2 separate regions of the Homo sapiens genome follow, and region 2 is linked to region 1. Evidence: promoter capture Hi-C in human tissues and cell types (Jung and others, 2019). All regions are on one chromosome and are shown on one strand. Each heading gives the region's core, a stretch centred on a gene start or on the middle of the fragment in contact. The rest is flanking DNA. Distances are from core to core; before and after follow the strand shown. Region 1 holds the start of MYO1H (myosin IH). Region 2 has its middle 7.8 kb from the start of PPP1CC.

What was found. The method cuts DNA at HindIII sites, captures the fragments that hold promoters and counts their contacts. A contact is called where the count stands out against the background at its distance.
Region 2: a contact is called between a fragment that was not itself captured here and the fragment with the promoter of MYO1H in region 1, in 1 of the 25 tissues and cell types used here (H1 embryonic stem cells).

Annotation. Positions count from the first base shown.
Region 1 is chr12:109,344,252-109,349,726 of GRCh38, forward strand. It overlaps MYO1H (myosin IH), which reads left to right and starts at 3,649. Exons shown (of 32, transcript NM_001101421.4): 1 at 3,649-3,721. The coding sequence starts at 3,710. The HindIII fragment of the contact is 9,124 bases long and covers 1-5,475 here.
Region 2 is chr12:110,747,846-110,753,463 of GRCh38, forward strand. No RefSeq gene overlaps it. Among named protein-coding and RNA genes, the nearest start is that of PPP1CC, 7.8 kb to the left of the region's middle. The HindIII fragment of the contact is 5,871 bases long and covers 1-5,618 here.

The DNA.
Region 1 (5,475 bases), core at 2,399-4,898:
ATGACACCAAGAAAACTGTTACAGCTAATAAGTGATTTCAGCAAGGTTGCAGGATACAAGATCAATACACAAAAGTCAACTATATTTTTGTATGCTGGCAATGAACAATCTGAAAATGAAATAAATCTTACAAAAACATCAAGAAGAATAAAATACTTAGGAATAAAGTTAGCAAAAGAAGTGTAAGACTTGAACGCTGAAAACTATAAAGTGTCATTGAAAGAAATTGAAGAAGACCTAAATAAATGGAAAGATATCCTATGCTCACAGATTGGAAGACTTAATATCATTAGAATGTCAATACTCCCCAAATTGACCTACATATTCAATGCCATCCCTATCAAAATACTATCTGGCTTATTTGCAGAAATTGATAGACTAACTCTAAAATTTTTGGAAATGCAAGGGACCCAGAATGGCCAAAACTATCTTTAAAAAGGGAAATGAAATTGGATGTTTTACATTTCCTGATTTTAAAACTGACTACAAAGCTACAAAGACTGTGAGGTACGGCCATAAAGACAGACATGTAGATCAATGGAATAGAATTAAAAGTTCAGGTGTAAACTACTATGTTTATGGTCAATTGATTTTCGACAAGGGAGCCAAGATGACTCAATGGGGGAAAGAATAATTTTTCAACAAATGATGCTGGAGCGACATGCCACATGCAATGTTATAAAGTTAGATGTCTCCTTCACATAATACACAAAAACTTACTCAAAATGAATTAACTATAAAACTATTAGAAGAAAACACAGGTGTACATCTTTGTGACCTTGAATTATGCAATGGTTTCTTAGACATTATACTTAAAACACAAGAAACCAAAGGTAAAAAAATAGATAAATTAGGCTTCATCAAAGTTTAAGTCTTTTGTGTTTCAAAGGATACTATCAAGAAAGTGAAAAGACAACCTACAGAATGAGAAAATATTTGCAAATCATATACAGTGTCAGATAAAGTTCTAGTATCCAGAATATATAAGGAGCTTCTACAACTCAACAACAAAAAGACAAAGAACCCATCTTGAAAATGGGCGAAGGATTTGCATAGACAGTTCTCCAAAAAAGGTATAGAAATGGCAAATACACATGAAAAGATGCTTAGCATCGTTAGTCATCAGTGAAATGTAAATCAAAACCACAATGAGATACCACTGCACATCAACTAGCTTGGCTAGAATAAAAAAGGTGAACAACAATAACAGGTGTTGGCAAGAATTCGGAGAAAATGGAAACCTCATACATTCTTGGTGGGAATGTAAAATGATGTGGCCAGTTTAGAAAACAGTTTGGCAGGTCCTTAAAAAGTTAAACATAGAGTTAACACGTAACCCAGCAATTCCACTCCTAGGTATATACCCAAGAGAAATGAAAACAAGTCCACACAAAAATTTGCACCTGAATGTTGATAGCATTATTTGCAATAGCCAAAAAGTGGAAAAAACCCAAATGTGCATCAACTGATGGATAAACAAAATGTGGTATATCCATACCAGAGGCATTATGTGGCAATAAAAATGAAGTGTACTGGTTCATGCTAAAACATGGATGAAACTTGAAGACACAATGCTAAGTGAAAGAAGCCAGTCATGAAAGGTCACATATTGTATGACTGTGTTCATATGAAATGTCCATGATAGGCCAAATGTATAGAGACAGCAGATTAGTGGTTTCAAGGTGCTAGGGTGGGGAAAAGGGAGATCATAGATAATGGATATAGGATTTCTTTTGGGGGTCATGAAAATGTTCTTGAATTAAATAGTGATGATGATTGCACAACATTGTGAATCTATAATAGTCCCTCCATATTTATGGGTTCCAATTCCATGAATTCAACCAACCTTGGATCAAAAGTATTCAGGGAAAAATTTTCATCTGTATGAAGATGTACAGACACTTTTTTGTCATTGTTGCCTAGACAATGTAGTATAACAACTATTTACATGGCATTTACATTCTACTAGGTATTATAAGTAATCTGACAATGATTTAAAGTGTACAGGAGGATGTGCATAGGTTATATGCAAATACTATGCCATTTTATATCAGGCAATTGAGCATCCATGGATTTTTGAAGGTCCTGGAACCAATCCCCCACAGATACTGAGGTACAACTGTACTTAAAAAACAATGAACTGTATAAATAAGTGAATGTTATACGTGATTTATATTTCAATTAAAAATATATTTCAGATATGCAAAAATGTATGAAGAATCATATAGGCCAGGCGCGATGGCCCACACCTGTAATTCCAGCACTTTGGGAGGCTGAGGCAGGTGGATCACTTGAAGTCAGGAGTTCGAGACCAGCCTGGTCAACATGGTGAAACCTTATCTCTACTAAAAATACAAAAGTTAGCTGGGCGTTGTGGCGGGTGCCTTGTAATCCCAGCTACTCAGGAGGCTGAGGCAGGAGAATCACTTGAACCTGGGGGGCGGAGGTTGCAGTGAACTGAGATCCTGCCATTGTGCTCCAGCCTGGGCAACAGAGCAAGGCTCCATCTCAAGAAAAAAATAAATTATATTTAAAAACTAAAATATATGTCTATAAAATTATATATTTTTAAAAAACATTTTTAGTATACTATTTCTGGTTGTCCCTTTGTAACCAAATCAAGGATATGTTATATTACCTATTCAGTTACAAAAATGGAATCATTTCTTTAAAAAAGTCAATTGATCAAAAATTAGAGTGTCCAAAGAATTATTAGCATATTTCTGCTCTTGTCAGGGCTTGTGTTAGGGGTTCTCCAATAGGATATATATACAGAGAGAGAGATACATGAAATGGGATTAATAAATGAAATCCTGAGGTCAGTCGCTGGACCCACAGTCCTCCATCCAACAGGGGGTGCTGTTTAGGTTCGAATGAACCCAGCACTGAATCCACTGTCCATACCCTTAGCCATGATCCTGTTGCAGCAGCAGGCTCAAGTTTGGGGGCCCAAGGCATACAATGTGGTGGGTGATGGGTGGGGTTGTCTGAAAGAACAAGAATAGAACTTTATACGATGAGGCCCAGACCAGGAAGGGGTGAACTCTGAGCTTCATGGTAAACCCATCTGTAACTGAACAGCCTCCAATATCAGCAACCTTGTGATTTTTTATGAGATGATAGTGCCCCTGCATCACTTCAGCATCTGAAAATAATAATAAAATGAAAGTAAAGTCCTGAGTCTCCGTATTATGAAACCTTGAAGTTACCCAATCAACTTGATTCCATGAAATTTAAGGCTGTAAAGTTTTTCAAACAGAGCCAACAGGTACTTCCAGCAGGAGTTCCCTGGAGCTGGATCCTAGGCTAAGAGATTGGGAGAATTTTCTTTTCTTTTTTTTTTCTTTTTTTCTTTTTTTTTAAGCATAGCTCACCGAGGGTCCTGCCATTATTTCAATAGTCAGTGACTGGTCAGGAACATAAGCAACTAATCAAAGATCAGCAGTGTCTGTAACGTAAACTCAAGGGAGGTTGGGTTTCCAGTTCTTATCTCCCTGGAGCAGCCCGGTGTGCCTACATGTAGACGGCCATAAGATGCAGTTTCTGCCTCCCACCGTAAATTATTAACTTAGCTCCACCCCGCAAGCTAGAATCGCCTCATACCTTGTTGCTGGATGTCAGGCATCACAGAATCATAAGTCAGTGGGAAGCAACTTTTGAATGGCTCAAGAGGAATAGTTGTTAACAACCTGCTCTCCCTCTGTGCGTGATGGAATCCAAGGTAATGTGACTTGAACACTAGAAGGTGGTTACACCTGGTGACCTCTTTTCTACCAAGAACTTTCCAAATGGCTATAATGCTGGGCCTCTGCTAGGCCTGGAGAGAGAACTGGGCGTGTGAATAAGATTCTGAATTTATTTGATGAAAAATTCTATGTTAAGATGATCATGTAGATATCTCCCTTCTGTTGCTGGGGGCAAGTACGATGATTTAGAACCAAAGCATGGGAGAGTTACCGATTCATTTCACATTGGTCTAGAACAGCGTGCTGTGCAATAAAGACAGAAATGGTCTCTGTTAGCACTGCCTAATGCAAGAGCTCTTGGCTATGTGTGACTACTGAGTGGTTAAACTGTGGCTGGTTCCTGGGGAACTGAATTGTAAATTTGACTGAATTTTCATTAATTTAAATAGCCACATGTGGCTAGTGGCTACTGTGTTAGCATGGTTGGGTCTTAAATAATAGATGGTGACCTCATGTTGAAGGAAATTGTAGGTAATAATTGGCCTTACATGTAAGACTATTGGTACATTTTCTTCATTACCCTAGATACCTTGTGTTTCCTTTTAAATGCGATAAGCCCAACTTGTCCCAGGTAATGATCATTTTAAGAAGCTAAGACAGCTGTTTTTATTATCAGGTAGACAATGGTAAAGCTCTCCTGGGAAGATGGAAGACAGAACTTGAGTGTCAAACCTATTGCCTCTTTCCAGGAGTTAATTCTAAGCATAAAGACTTCCAAGGACAGGTTTTCTGGGTTTCGATAGCATAATCATCTCATGTGTTCTCTGTTTAGAAAACATTATCTGCTGAAGGATTGTTTCTTTTCTTGCCTAGACAGCCAAAAAGCTTACAGAAACATTTATGGATGTAGTTAGAATAATTTCGTAGCTGTTCACAGAAGCCTCAGGCACCATGAAGAAACCCTAGCTACAGCTTGTCATTGATCCATTCAGTCAATTACCCATTTCTATAGCACTGAATACTGTCACCTTGGCAACTGGTAACTCAAAATGGCACTGTCCTTGACCGAAAATGTATCTGAATGCCCATAACAAAGTCCTGGTTTTAGATGCCATTCTTGCATGATATCTCAAAGTGGTAACTCTAGGAAGCATGATTCATTGGGAGAAAATAATTTAGTTGATGGACAGAGAGGAGTATTTGCTGTAGGTCTTGCAGTGAAAGACAACAGATAGGTCTGTCCTCAAGGTCGCATGTGCCTTTTTTTAAATTGTCATGGCTTTACAAAATGCACGTAGAAGTAACCATGCAGATTGACTTATACATAGTTACACTTTTTTGAAAAATGGAGGAAGCTCTTCCTTCTTATGAATTAATTCCCAGATTCCTTTGGTAAAACATTATTTGGATAGAGTTTACTCCAGATTAAAAAAGAACAAACTGGGCTGGGCATGGTGGCTTGTGCCTATAATCCTAGCACTTTGGAAGGCCAAGGTGGGAGGATCCCTTGAGACTAGGAGCTTGAGACCAGCATGAGCAACATAGTGTGACCCCCCCACCAAAAAAATTAAAAAGTAGCTAGATATGGTGGCACATGCCTGTGGTCCCAGCTACTCCAGAGGCTAAAGTGGGAGGATCACTTGAGCTAGGGTGATCAAGGCTGCAGTGAACTGTGATCATGCCATGCACTCAGCCTGGATGACAGTCTGAAACCCTGTCTCAAAAAAAAAAAAAAAAAAGAGGCCGGGTGCGGTGGCTCATGCCTGTAATCCCAGCACTTTGGGAGGCC
Region 2 (5,618 bases), core at 1,674-4,173, 1.4 Mb after region 1:
TGACTTCATGTTTTTGTTGTTTTTTTTTTTTTTGAGACGGAGTCTCACTTTGCTGCCCAGGCTGAAGTGCAGTGGCATGATCTCGGCTCACTGCAACCTCTGCCTCCTGGATTCAAGCAATTCTCCTGCCTCAGCCTCCCTAGTAGCTGGCATTACAGGAATGCACCACAACACCCAGCTAATTTTTTGTATTTTTAGTAGAGACGAGGTTTCACCATGTTGGCCAGGCTGGTCTTGAACTCCTGACCTCAAGTGATCCACCCGTCTCGGCCTCCCAAAGTGCTGGGATTACAGGCGTGAGCCACCGCCCCCAGCCTCATGTTTTTTTTAAATAAGCTTTTTATTTTGGAATAGTTTTAGGTTTACTGAAATGTAGCAAAGATGGTACAAAGAGTTCCCATATGCCTTTAGGTTTCCCCTTAATGTTAACATCAACAGCCAAGGCATTGCTCATAATTATTTCCTAACACCTAAATCATAAAGAAATGGTGGATCAGGCTGGGCGTGGTGGCTCATGCCTGTAATCCCAGCACTTTGGGAAGCTGAGATGGGCGGATCGCTTGAACTCAGGAGTTTGAGAACAGCCTGGGCAACATGGCAATACCCTGTCTCTACAAAAAATACAAAAAATTAGCCGGGCTTGGTGGTGTGCACCTATAACTCCCAGCTACTCAGGAGGCTGAGGCAGAAGAATTGCTTGAGCCCCGGAGGTTGAGGCTGCAGTGAGCTGTGACTGTGCCATTGCATTCCAGCTGGGGCGACAGAGTGAGACCCTGTCTCCCCCACAAAAAAATGATGGATCATAAAATATCACATCACATATAACCCAGAGAGCATCTTCTTCAAAATAAGGTCTGATTGTGTGTATGTGTTTTGAAAGATCGGGTTTTGTTTTGTTTTGTTTCTGAGATGGAGTTTCGCTCTTGTCGTCCAGGCTGGAGTGCAATGGCGCGATCTCATCTCACTGCAACCTCCGCCTCCCAGGTTCAAGCGATTCTCCTGCCTCAGCCTCCCAAGTAGCTGGGATTACAGGCATGTGCCACCACGCACAGCAAATTTTGTATTTTTAGTAGAGACGGGGCTTCTACATGTTGATCAGGCTGGTCTCGAACTCCTGACCTCAAGTGATCCACCCACCTTGGCCTCCCAAAGTGCTAGGATTATAGGTGTGAACCACCGAGCCTGGCCAAGATCAGGTTTTACTATGGTGCCCAGGCTGGACACGAACTCCTGGACAGTTACTTCCTACCCAAGTAACTGGGACTATAGGTGCACACCTCCATGCTTAGCTCTGATTGCATTTTTTTTTTTTTTGAGACAGAGTCTTACTCTGTCACCCAGGCTGAAGTGCAATGGCATGATCTCGGCTCACTGCAACCTCCACCTCCCGGGTTCAAGCGATTCTCCCACCTCAGCCTCCCGAGCAGCTGGGATTACAGGCACCTGCCATCATGCCTGGCTAATGTTGGCCTGGCTGGTCTCGAACTCCTGACCTCAGGTGATCCTCCCACCTCGGCCTCCCAAAGTGCTGGGATTACAGGCGTGAACCACCGCGCACAGCCTACATTTTTAAAAGATTTCTTTGGTTTCCGTGAGGAGAATGGACTGTAGGTGAGAAGGAGAGGAAGCTATGAGACTAGAGAGCAGGCTGTTGAAAAATGTGGCTTTAGCCGGGAGCGGTGGCTCATGCCTGTAATCCCAGCACTTTGGGAGGCTGATGCAGGCGGATCACTTGAGGTCAGGAGTTCGAGGCCAGCCTGGCCAACATGGCGAAACTCATCTCTACATCTAATACAAAAATTAGGCGGGCATGGTGGTGGGTGCCTGTAATCCCAGCTACTCCAGAGGCTGAGGCAGGAGAATCTCTTGAACTCAGGAGACGGAGGTTGCAGTGAGCCAAGATTTCAGCACTGCACTCCAGCCTGGGTGACAGAGTGAAATTGTGTAATATATATATGTGTGTGTGTGTATATATATATATACACACATGTATATATGTATGTGTATATATGTGTATATATACACATACATACATATATATGTACATATATACACATATACACACATCTGTATGTATACACATACACACACATCTGTATGTATGTATACACATATATACATATATGTATATATGTATAAAATATAAAGTATACACATGTATAAAGTAAATGTCCATTTTATATATTTATATATATAAATATATGTATTTATGTTTATAAATGTATATATATTTATATTTATAAACGTATATATACTTATAAATGTATATATATTTATACTTATAAATGTATATATATTTATACTTGTAAATGTATATATATTTATACTTGTAAATGTATATATTTATACTTGTAAATGTATATATATTTATACTTGTAAATGTATATATGTGTGTGCGTGTGTGTGTGTGTGTATACATATATTATATATATATGGTGGCTTTACTGATTAGTCTTAGTTTTCTAATCTGCAAAATGGGGACATTATTACCCATCTCAGAATGTGATCGTGAGAATGTATCTTCCAATGTACTTAGGGTGCTAACAGGAATAATGATGACAATAACAGTGATAATAGCTGGCATTTATTGAGTGTTTTCTGTGTGCCAATCTCTATGCTCATGGCCTTTCATGCATGCTCATTTTATTTTATTTTTGAAACGAAGTCTTACTCTGTCACCCAGGGTAGAATGCAGTGGCATGATCTCCGTTCACTGCAACCTCTGCCTCCTGGGTTCAAGCGATTCTCCTGCCTCACCCTCCAGAGTATAGAGTAGCTGGGAGGACAAGCATGCACCACCACACCTGGCTAATATTTTTGTAGGCTGGTCTTGAACTCCTGACCTCAGGTGATCCACCTGCCTCGGCCTCCCAAAATTCTGGGATTACAGGCATGAGCCACCATGCCTGCCCTAATTTTTCTGATTTTTTTTTTTTTTTGTAGAGATAGGGTCTCGCTATGTTGCCCAGGCTGATGTTGAACTCCTGGGCTCAAGCGATCCTCCTGTCTCAGCCTCCCAAAGTGCTGGGATTACAGGCTTGAGCCATTGCGCCCTGCATGCATGCTCATTTTAATCTTCACACTATTTTAGGAGTTAGGTTTCGCCAAGGGAAATAATTTATAACCCAGCTGGGGAGGGCCAGAGCCAGGATTTAAACCCAGGGAATCTGATGTCACACTTCTTCCTCCAAACACAGAAGTTATGTTCTTAGGGATCAGGGAGAGCAGATTCTTTGGGATGTTCCCAGGAGCCTTCTTGGAGCAGGGGGATTTAGATGGGCTGTTCAAAACCTCTTGCACCAGCCTTGGCCTTCACAGAGCCTTCATTGTCGTTGGGTGTGTCTTTCTTTGAGAAGGCCCCAAATACACTTTCATCTGGAATTATCCAACAGTGAAACTAGGATGATTATCGCCTTGCTAAATGTTCCTTAGCATCACAAAATGACTCACTCTGTGGTCGGGAAAGAAACAAGCTATCCCAGCATCTGGAGGGTGGATCGCACTGCCATTTGGAACAAAGTCTGGCAAAGGGAGGCTCACTTTAGAGCAGGGATTGTTGACCTGGGCGCTATTGACGTTTTGGGCTAGATCGTTCTCTGTCGAGCGGGTTCTGTCCTGTGTACTACATGGTGTTTAGCGGCATCCCTGATTTCTACCCACCAGATACAAGTAGCATGCCCCTCTTCTCCAATCATGACAATAAAAGATGTCTTCTGGCCAGTGTGGTGGCTCACACCTGTAATTCCAGCATTTTGGGAGGCCAAGGTGAGAGGATTGCTTCAAGCCCAGGAGTTTGAGACTAGCCTGAACAATGTAGTGAGACCCCATTCCTTAAAAAACATGTTTTGGCTGGGCACGGTGGCTCACGCCTGTAATCGCAGCGCTTTGGGAGTCCAAGGCAGGTGGATCCCTGAGGTCAGGAGTTCGAAACCAGCCTGGCCAACATGGTGAAACCCCATCTCTACTAGAAATACAAAAATTAGCTGGGTGTGGTGGTGGACGCCTGTAGTCCCAGCTACTCAGAAGGCTGAGGCAGGAGAATCACTTGAACCTGAGAGGTGGAGGCTGCAGTGAGCTGAGACAGCACCACTGCACTCCAGCCTGGGTGACAGAGTGAGACTCCATCTCAAAAAAAAAAAAAAAAGAAAAAGAAAAAAACATTGTAATGAACTATTTAGAACTTGGAGCGAAGTATAGATTGGTAATGAAAAAAATGCAATGAACTATTTAAAGCTTAAAGTACTTGCATATAGATACCCCTCTTCACACTCCAGAGATTCCAAATGTTAACATTTGGCCATATTTGACTTAGTTTTTTTTCTTTATTTTTTTTTTAGGTAAGAAAGGAAATGAAGTATTATGGTTGACACTTTTTTTTTTTTTTTTTTTTTTGAGACGGAGTCTTGCTCTGTCGCCCAGGCTGTAGTGCAATGGTGCGATCTTGGCTCACTGTAACCTCCACCTCCCAGGTTCAAGCGATTCTCCTGCCTCAGCCGCCCAAGTAGTTGGGATTACAGGTGCCCACCACACCTGGCTAATTTTTGTATTTTTAGTAGAGACTGGGTTTCGCCATGTTGGTCAGGCTGGTCTTAAACTCCTGACCTCAAGTAATCCACCCACCTTGGCCTCCCAAAGTGCTGGGATTACAGGCGTGAGCCACCATGCCCAGTCTACTCTCTTTGAATCCCATCTCCATCCTATTCGCTTCCCCTTTCCTTCCCCAGAGGTAGCACCAGGCAGCCTAATATTGTTGTGTAGGTGACTATGTTTTCACTAGGTTACAACATCTAATAAACAAACTAACAGTCAACAAGGAAGAAAACCAACAGCCTTAACCCTCAGGGGCAGGTGGAATGAGTTTTCATAAAGCCAGATTTATTTCGTTTAAAAGACCGGCTTTGCTTCTGAGAGCAGGACATTCTGACTTTATTTATATTAAAATGTCCTTCCAAGTAAGAAAGGTGGTAATAGTGAGAGATAGCTATTTTTTAAATGTCCCATTTGGCAAAAAAAAAAAAAAAAAAAAAAAAAATCCAATCATAGGATGACGGAGAAATAACTTGCAGCATGTTTAGGCGGTGATGGAAAGGAAGGAAACTGAGCTACGTGTATCAACATGGATTCATCTCAAAGCTAATATCAATGAAGCAAAAGCCAGCTGGGGGAAGCATTTGGGCTGGATGATGCTACTTACATAAAAGTTTAAAATGGGAAAACAATGTCACATATTTAGGGCAGGGTTTTCAAACTTTTTGGGGGCCGCAATGTGCTTTAAGAAAGATATTTTAGGCGGGGCATGGTGGCTCATGCCTGTAACCCCAGCATTTTGGGAGGCCAAGGCAGGCAGATCATTTGAGGTCAGGAGTTTGATACCAGCCTGGCCAACATGGTGAAAACTGTCTCTATGAAAAATACAAAAAATTAGCTGGCACACACCTGTAATCCCAGCTACTCAGGAAGCTGAGGCAGGAGAATTGCTGGAACCTGGGAGACAGAGGTTGTGGTGAGCCAAGATCCTGGCCACTGCACTCCAGCGTAGGTGACAAAGCTAGACTCTGTCTCAAAAAAAAAAGAAAGGAAAAAAAAAGATTTTAGGCTGGGCACGGTGGCTCATACTT